2 separate regions of the Homo sapiens genome follow, and region 2 is linked to region 1. Evidence: promoter capture Hi-C in human tissues and cell types (Jung and others, 2019). All regions are on one chromosome and are shown on one strand. Each heading gives the region's core, a stretch centred on a gene start or on the middle of the fragment in contact. The rest is flanking DNA. Distances are from core to core; before and after follow the strand shown.

Region 1 (4,323 bases), core at 1,057-3,556:
TTCATTAGAAGCATGATCTTTGGCATGAGACCAGGGTTCCAAACCTTAGCGTGATTATTTGCTAGCCACACTGCCTTGGGCAAGTTATTTAACCTCTCTGTGTCAGTACCTTCATCTGCAAAATGGAAATGATAATGGTCCTCAGGAAAGAATCTAATAATGCCTGTCAAGAAGTACACACTTGAAAAATATTAGTTCTTCTCCTCACTCTACAACACTTTAAACCCAAACCTCTGTCATCGTCAAGAGATGGAAAGATGAGGAAATCATGAGCAAGAACACACGTCTTTCTAGCCAGTCAGATGCCTGGTTCTATCAGTCCCTGTGTCCTTGGCTGTCAGTCCCCAGAGCTGCTGGAGACAGAGCCCAGAGTGAGCAGGTTTCCCACCACCATCCACCACCCACAACATTTTGCTTCAGCCTCCTCCATTCACCAGTCCCCTTCCCTGTTCTTATCTCCCCCAACACACCACCCCCACCAGCACTGGCCCGGACCTGTTCCCAAAGGACTAGTTTCTGGCCATGTTCCAAGCCCCCTGGAAACACATCCTAGCATCTGGCTCATACTCACAGAGAAAGGGGCAAATGCTATCCAGGAGAATGCATGACCCTCCCAGGAACACTCTGACCCCCCCCAAGGGGATAGCTTCAGAGCTATGTAATTGTCCAACCAACTGCAACCATCCCACCCTGGGCTCCACTCCAGGCACTGCCCATCCCGCAGAACTTGCCGGCCTCCCAACATTTCTGGCACCCCATGCCAGACTGGTATGGCAGGAAACAGGGTAGAGCACTGTTCCAAGCCACAAAATTTCTCTATATGGTCCCCCAACCCACTTTGTCCAGCAACCCATCACTATGAGCCCTGGGAGCACAGACCACCTCCCTCCTCCCCAGAGTCAGGCTCCTAAGCCTTGTGCCTCTACCTTCTCCTCCCCTGAGTGTTGGTCCATTTGCACTCTCACAGATCTGCTGTTCTTCATACCACCGGCTCCCACAGCCACAGCCATGTCCCATTCAGCCTGGCAGGCCCAGGCTCAGTGCCTCCCAGACCTCAAGTCCCTCCCAAACCCTGATCAGGCTGAGACCAGAGTTTGGAACCAGCCAAGGCCAAGGCCCAGCCCTAAGGATGGCTCTGCCCACTGCCTTGCCAAGCCTTCCTGGCCACCTCCTGTCTATCCCATCCCCAGGGCCCATCTGCCCCTGCCCTCCTTGGCAAAAGGAGGCTCCAGGGGATTAAAAACGACTTCAGAAAGTTCATGGTAAGAGGCACTGCCCAGGCGGGGCCCAGCAGTGCCAGCACCACCCACCATACTCGGACATGGGCCTCAATTCTTCAATTCTGGGCCTTTCCAGATGTAGAGGAGCCTACCCAGGGCCTGTATCTGTCGGTCCAGTGCCCGCTGCCGCCTTCTCCCATCCCCAGTCCTCACTCTCCCTAAAGATTACAGAGGGCTCCCACATCACCCTTTACTATGCAACCCCCACCAGGTCCCTCCAGCTCACAGGGGTAATCTGGTAAGGAGAGGATATGGGCAAAGAGGCTCCCACGCCTGATTCCACCTCTAGCCTTTCAGTCGAGCCCCAGAGTCTGCTTTGAATAAAGTCAGCTCCCCTGCCCACCCTGCGGCAGGCCTTGGGGGATGTGGGGAGCCGACCCCACCCCTTTCATTCCCAAGGTTTTGGGTGAGGGGAAGGAGAGGGACTCCCGCAGACAGAGGGCATCCCTCCCTCTGCCCAGGCCGGTTCCTCTCCCCTAAATGGAATCTCCCCCAAACTCGGAGACACCCCACAGCCCCGCAGCAAAAAACTCAGGCCAGCCCCTCCCCCAGTACGTGCCAGATCCTCCTGGCCTCCGGGCCAGCCTGGAACTCGCCCCGTGGAGGGAGGCAGGCGGCGGGCGACGGGGGTGGCGAGCGCCGGACCTAGGAGTCCTCGATCCCACTGCCTCCATGACTTCCCTTTGCCAACCCCAACTCCCTCGGGCAACACTGCCGAGACGACCCGTCCAAGGCTTCGGCGCCCCCACCCACAAACTCTTGTCGAGAGCCGCTCGGGTGCGTTCCAATCCTGGCGCACCGGGAGCCCGAGCGGCCACTTCCCCTAGCCCTCAGCGCGCTCACCTGCCGGCCCGGCTCCGCGCCTGCCCTGGGCCCCCGCCCCGCCGCCCCCGCGGGCTCCGGCCGGCCGGCCGGCCGTCCCGCGGTCCTCCGAGCCCGCGCGTCCTGGCCGTCCCGCCCGCCGTCCGCCGTCCGCCGTCCGCCCGGCCCTCGCCCCCTCCCGAGCTGTCCAGCGCAGCCGCCCTCTACCCCGGATCCAGAAGTCCCCTCCCCGCTGGCTCCCGGACTCCCCGCCTTAAAGGCACAAGCTCCTTTTGTCTGGGCATCCCCCTCCCCCTCCCCAGAAGTGGGGGCCGAGTTGCCCACTCCCCTTCCTAGCAGCGGGGTAGGGGCGGAGGAGGCCAAATAATGGGACCCCTCCCTCCGCGCGCCCCCTCCTCTCCTCCGGCCGCTTCCTCCCCCAGTCCTGGGAAGACAAGCAGCTACTGTTCTGGGATCAAGACCCCGCGGGGAGGGGACCTCGCAGCCCGGTCCCCTTCCCTTCACCCCGGCCGCCTCCTCCGGCATTCCTCTCCCGCCCTCACCCCGGGGGTCCCCGAGCGCGCCCGCAAACCCACCCCTCACGGCTACATCCCCCGCCCCGCCCACCGAGGGTCGCCTTCCTTCCTGTCAGGGTCCCAGGGGTTGGGCCGGCGCCCCGCGCCCACTCTTCATCCCCAATTCCTCCCTGCCCCTGCCCCAGCCCCAGCCCCCACCTAGCCATTCCCGCCCTGCCTGTCACGGCCCTGCGCCCTCCCGCGGGAACTCAGTTTAATAATTAATTAAGCTCTCATTCCACAAGGCGCCAGGTGTGTGCGGCCTGCTTGCCCGCACACCACTTCTTTCCTCTTCCCCCCAGTCTCTGGGGCAGCGGCCCCGAGGCGAACCTCGGGGCCCAGTGGAGGGACCCAGGGAAGGGGCACTCTCCCTGCCGCCCCCACAACCCCCCGCCCTACTCTCTGGGAGCCCCTCCCCCGCACCTGCCAACTTGCAGCCTCACCCCCAGGCATCTTTTACCCAAAGGGCTGTGCTTCTCTGCTGGGGGTTGGAGGGGCTACTGGGGTGCATTGCTAAGTGCACGAACTGAGAAACTGGGTCTTTAGTTATTTCCAGCACGGAGCAGCTGCCCAAGTTACCTGGGAGATGGGAAAATCGTGTGAAAGCTGGTTAACCCTTTGAGGATTAGAGTAATGGTGGAAGCAGAAAGGAGAAGGAGTTTCACTCCAGGATGTACGTAGGTGAGTGTGACTTTAGAGGGGGTGCCATTCTGGAGCTGGGAAGAAGGCAGCCTGCCTGGCTTCCTTTTGAGGCCCCCTCTCCATTCCCTCAGTCAGACCTCTAGCTCCTCCTTCCAATTCAGCCCTTCCCCAAGCAGCCTATTCCCCACCCAAGATCCCAAGACCTAGGTATCTGAAGATGCTTCCTCCTCAGGACCAGCCCTCCCTGCAGTCCTGTCCTTCAAGACTCAAGTCTTGTCCACTCCAAATCACCACTGGGATTCCTAAGTCCAGGACAGAGCTTCAGGCAAGGAAAAGAAGAGTTGGGAAAGCCAGTTTCCAACATTTATCAGCCACGTGTACCTGCAAACTATATACCTTGGGTAAATCATCAATCTCTTGAAATGGGAATAAAACCATCTGCCTTGTCTTTCTTACAGGGTTTTCAGAATCAGATAGAGAAATGTTTGTTATAATGTTTGAAAATGGGAAAGTGGTACTTTCTCATTTCTCAGTTGTGCAGGCCTGGCCTGCAATTTGATCTTTGGGGCCTCTTTGCCTGACTTCTCACTTCAAAATTTCCTTAAAAATTGTTTTTGCTGGCCGGGCGCGGTGGCTCACGCCTGTAATCCCAGCACTTTGGGAGGCCGAGGCGGGTGGATCACAAGGTCAAGAAATCGAGACCATTCTGGCCAACATGGTGAAACCCCGTCTCTATTAAAAATTAGCTGGGCGTGGTGGCGGGCACCTGTAGTCCCAGCTACTCGAGAGGCTGAGGCAGGAGAATCGCTTGAACCCGGGAGGCGGAGGTTGCAGTGAGCCGAGATCACGCCATTGCACTCCAGCCTGGGAGACAGAGCGAGACGCCGTCTCAAAAAAAAAAAATTGTTTTTGCTATCAAAATTTCCTCTTCAAAATACCTGAATCAGGTTATCTACCACTTACGCTTAGAATAATGTGCTCATGAGCCACATGGGGAAAATGCAAAAAACAATTGAGATAAATAT
Region 2 (4,323 bases), core at 1,241-3,740, 110 kb before region 1:
TGAGTCACTCCATGAAGTTTGAATGACAAAAATCACCTAACAAAGTATGTATCCCCATCATTAAGTGACACATGACTGTACTACCAAATTCACATGTTAAACCCACAACAGCTTGTTGGAACTGGCATAAAACTTGCCTAGAGCTTCATGTTCCACTTTGCGATTATGTAAGTATCGGCGCTTCTTCTCCTTGAGCAGATGCTGAAGTCGTTTAAACTGATCAATATACAACGACTGCAAACGAATTAGCTTTTCACGCATAATCAGGGCCACTTCTTCTGCTGTGTAGACACCAGCATGTCTGGAATAAAACAGAATTCAGCAAAGCATAAGAAAACAATAATAATAAAACCCAAGTTTGAAAGAGTAGAGATGTCAGACTAAGTTTGTTATTTAACAAGTGGTGACATAATCACCTTAATGTTTTTGCAAAACATTGTACCATTCAAGTTGTTATTAAATAAAACAAAAGAGAAAATCTCCAAGAAAGAATACTAATCTGTGATTTCCCAAAATGGGGGAAGGAGAAATGTCTTATTTTTCCCAGCTATTTGCATTATGTTGAAAAGAAAGTGAACATGCGGAACACTTTAAACTTTTATTAATCTACATTCTTAATGTTTTGATATGAAATCATCACTTACCAGTCAAGACAGCTTTAAAGTGTTCAATTAACATGTATCTTTCACATATACATATATACATGTATATATACGTATATATATATACATGTATATATATATATACGTATATATATATATATATATATATATTTTTTTTTTGAGATAAGGTCTCACTCTTGTCACCCAGGATGGAGTGCAGTGGTGCAATCAATCACAGCTCACTATAACCTTTGCTTCCTGGGCTCAAGCGATCCTCCCACGTCAGCCTGCCGAGTAGCTGGGACTACAGGTGTGCACCACCCCACTTGGTTAATTTTTGTATTTTTTGTAGAGATGGGATTTCACCATGTTGTCCAGGCTTGAACCCCTGGGTTTAAGCGATGCTCCCGCCTCAGCCTCACAAAGTGCTGGAATTAAACGCATAAGCTACTGCACCTGGCAATATATTTTAATTAAAGCACTAAAGATACCAACATCAAATAATTTTTTTTTTTGAGACAGTCTTGCTCTGTCACCCAGGCTGGAGTGCAGTGGCACAACCTTGGCTCACTGCAACCTCCGCTTCCCAGGTTCAAGTGATTCTCCTGTCTCAGCCTCCCAAGTAGCTGGCATTACAGGCACCTACCACCACGCCCAGCTAATTTTTATATTTTCAGTAGAGATGGGGTTTCTCCATGTTGGTCAGGCTGGTCTTAACTCCTGACCTCAGATCGATCTTCCAGCCTCGGCCTCCCAAAGTGGTGGGATTACAGGCATGAGCCACTGTGCCCAGCCAAAATTTGTAATTGTTTAAAAAATATAGGCCTATATTGGAGCTCATATGGACCCTCAAATAACTAGTCAAAATGGGCTATACCCTGTCCTCAGCTAATTTTCTTGACAATATTCTCAAAATTCAGTACCCTAGGTTAACCCTTAATTGCCAAAGATCTGGCACGGATCCATATCAACTTGATTAAGCTTTGCTGCCAATTATAAACTAAAAGAATATCTGGCCAGGCACGGTGGCTCACACCTGTAATCCTAGCACCTTGGGAGGCCAAGGCAGGCGAATCACCTGAGGTCAGGTGTTCAAGACCAGCCTGGCCAACATGGCGAAACCCCGTCTCTACTGAAAATACGAAAATCAACCAGGTATGGTGGTGGGCGCCTATAATCCCAGCTACTCGGGAGGCTGGGGCAGGAGAATTGCTTGAACCCGGGAGGCAGAGGTTGCAGTGAGCTGAGATCGTGCCACTGCATTCCAGCCTGGGTGACAGAGCAAGACTCCATCTCAAAAAAAGAAAAAAAAAAAAAAAGAACTTCTAAAAGTTTTGCTAGTGATTAATATATGGTAGACTGTTCTCTGGCTCTGATTTATGCAATCAAAATTAAGAGATGAGGCCAGGTGTGATAGCTCACGCCTGTAATCCCAGCACTTTGGGAGGCCGAGGCAGGCAGATTGCTTGAGCCTGGGAGTTCAAGACCAGCCTGGGCTGTAACATGATAAAACCCTGTCAATACAAAAAATACAAAAGTTAGCTGGGCACGGTGGTGTATACCTGTAGTCCCAGATACTCAGGAGACTGAGGTGAAAGGATCACTTCAGCCTGGGAGTGGGAGGCTGCAGTGAGCTGAGATGGCGCCACTGCACTCCAACCTGGGTGACAGAGCAAGACCATGTCTCAAAAATAAATAAATAAATAAATAAATAAGTGAATAACTTTGAATTTTAAAAATTTTGTTTCACTCACCGTCTGATCATTACATAAATACAAAGAACAAGCTATATACCTTAAGTTTCATACTGAGTAAAAATTTTATTGAAAAGGCAAAACACATAAATTATACTAATTTTAAGTCAAAAAATTATGCTTTATTACTTTTTCGTTTTTAAGACAGAGTCTTGCTCTGTTTCCCAGGCTGCACTGAAGTGGCACAATGTTGGCTCACTGCAACCTCCGCCTCCCGGGTTCAAGCAATTCTCGTGCCTCAGCCTCCACAGTAGTTGAGATTGCAGGCGTGTGCCACCACACCTGGCTAATTTTTTTATTTTTTGTATTTTTAGTAGAGATGGGGTTTCACCATGTTTCCCAGGCTGGTCTCAAACTCCTGAGTTCAGGCATTCCACCCGACTCGGCCTCCCAAAGTGCTAGGATTACAGGCGTGAGCCACTGTGGCCAGCCTCTGCTTTATTTTTAAAAACTAGCTGTTAAGGCACTGAAATACACAGAATATACAAAATTAACTTTAGGACTGAGAGCAAGTAATTTCTGCCAAAATTTCTTCATAAATATAAACAAAAGCCAATATTACCTGTGTATAAGAGGTACTTAACTATATTCTGAAGTAAAAGTGAAAAGAAATTAAGAAAAATCAAAACATGGTTAATAAAACCAGCAAAGGGCCAGGTGTGGTGCACAAGGCCAAGGTGGGTGGATCACTTGAGGTCAGGAGTTCGAGACCAGCCTGGCCAACATGGCAAAACAGCCTCTCTACTAAAAATACAAAAATTAGCCAGGTATGGTGGCAAGCACCTATAATCCCAGCTACTCGGGAGGCTGAGGCAGGAGAATCACTTGAACCTGGTAGGCAGAGATTACAGTGAGCCGAGATCGCACCACCGCGCTCCAGCCTGGGCGACAGAACGAGACTCTGTCTCCAAAAATAAAAAATTAAATAAAATAAACAAATTAAATAAATAAATAAAAATAATATATAATAAAATAAAATTAATAAAAAATAAATTTAAAAATAAATAAAATAAAATAAAACCAGCAAATTACAGAAATGACAAAAGCTAACAGACTATCAGAAAATGTGAAAAGGCTTTAAAAATATGTAACAGTTGGCTGGGCACGGTGGCTCAAGCCTGTAATTCTAGCACTTTGGGAGACCGAGGTGGGCATACTGCCTGAGCTCTGGAGTTTGAGACCAGCCTGGGCAACATGGTGAAACCCCATCTCTACTAAAATACAAAAAAAAGAAAGAAATTAGCCGGGCACAGCGGCGTGCGCCTGTAGTCCCAGCTACTAGGGAGGCTGAGGCAGAAGAATTGCTTGAACCCAGGAGGCAAAGGTTGCAGTGAGCTGAGATCGTGCCACTGCGCTCCAGCCTGGCAACAGAGTGAGAGTCCGTCTCAAAAATAAATACATAACGGTTTCACAAGGTGACTAAGTTACATCTTCAGAAAAATGGGTTATGCCTACATTAACCTGTCTGTAACCTAAAATACTGAGGCCTTAACCTAATATAGAGTTTGTTAAAATGAAATTCACTTTTTGAATACTGAAAATGAGAAAAATAAAAATTGTTTTAAAAAATTAATTTCACTGCACCCTGTCAGAAGAGAATTTAACCAATGGTCTGGAACTGAAATGTACCTATCTGAAGCCATTACTATTAGAAGTTATTAGAAATCATTTGGTGGGGGCAGTAAGCAACCTACTAAATGAATGCCGGCTGGTTCATGTAACAGATGGCTCATTTACTTAAAGATGAATGCGCCAGACTTTCAGAGCCGGACATTAAAATTATGTACTAATTCCCCTTGCTCTGGTATGCACAAATTAAAGTCAAGGTTTTATTATTAGCATTCATCTTCAAAAAAGAGGGTCTCACCTTATATTCTACTAAATAGTCTCTCTTATAAAGGGCATTCTCCAAATTTATTTGGAAAACAATGATGAAGATTCAATAATGTGAAATAACCTTCAGCCAA

The links. Contacts are between HindIII fragments. The study calls those that stand out against the background at their distance.
Region 2: a fragment that was not itself captured here is called in contact with the fragment with the promoter of ADCY6 in region 1 in 2 of the 25 tissues and cell types used here (H1 embryonic stem cells and heart right ventricle).

The regions. Positions count from the first base shown.
Region 1 is chr12:48,786,783-48,791,105 of GRCh38, forward strand. ADCY6 (adenylate cyclase 6) reads right to left here and starts at 2,307. Exons shown (of 22, transcript NM_015270.5): 1 at 2,124-2,307. ADCY6-DT (ADCY6 divergent transcript) reads left to right here and starts at 2,365. Exons shown (of 3, transcript NR_110019.1): 1 at 2,365-2,445; 2 at 3,203-3,337; 3 at 3,531-3,753. RefSeq lists an enhancer at 710-1,254. The HindIII fragment of the contact is 15,533 bases long and covers 1-4,323 here.
Region 2 is chr12:48,671,662-48,675,984 of GRCh38, forward strand. KANSL2 (KAT8 regulatory NSL complex subunit 2) reads right to left here. Exons shown (of 10, transcript NM_017822.4): 5 at 138-301. Among named protein-coding and RNA genes, the nearest start is that of SNORA2B, 6.2 kb to the left of the region's middle. The HindIII fragment of the contact is 6,757 bases long and covers 1-4,323 here.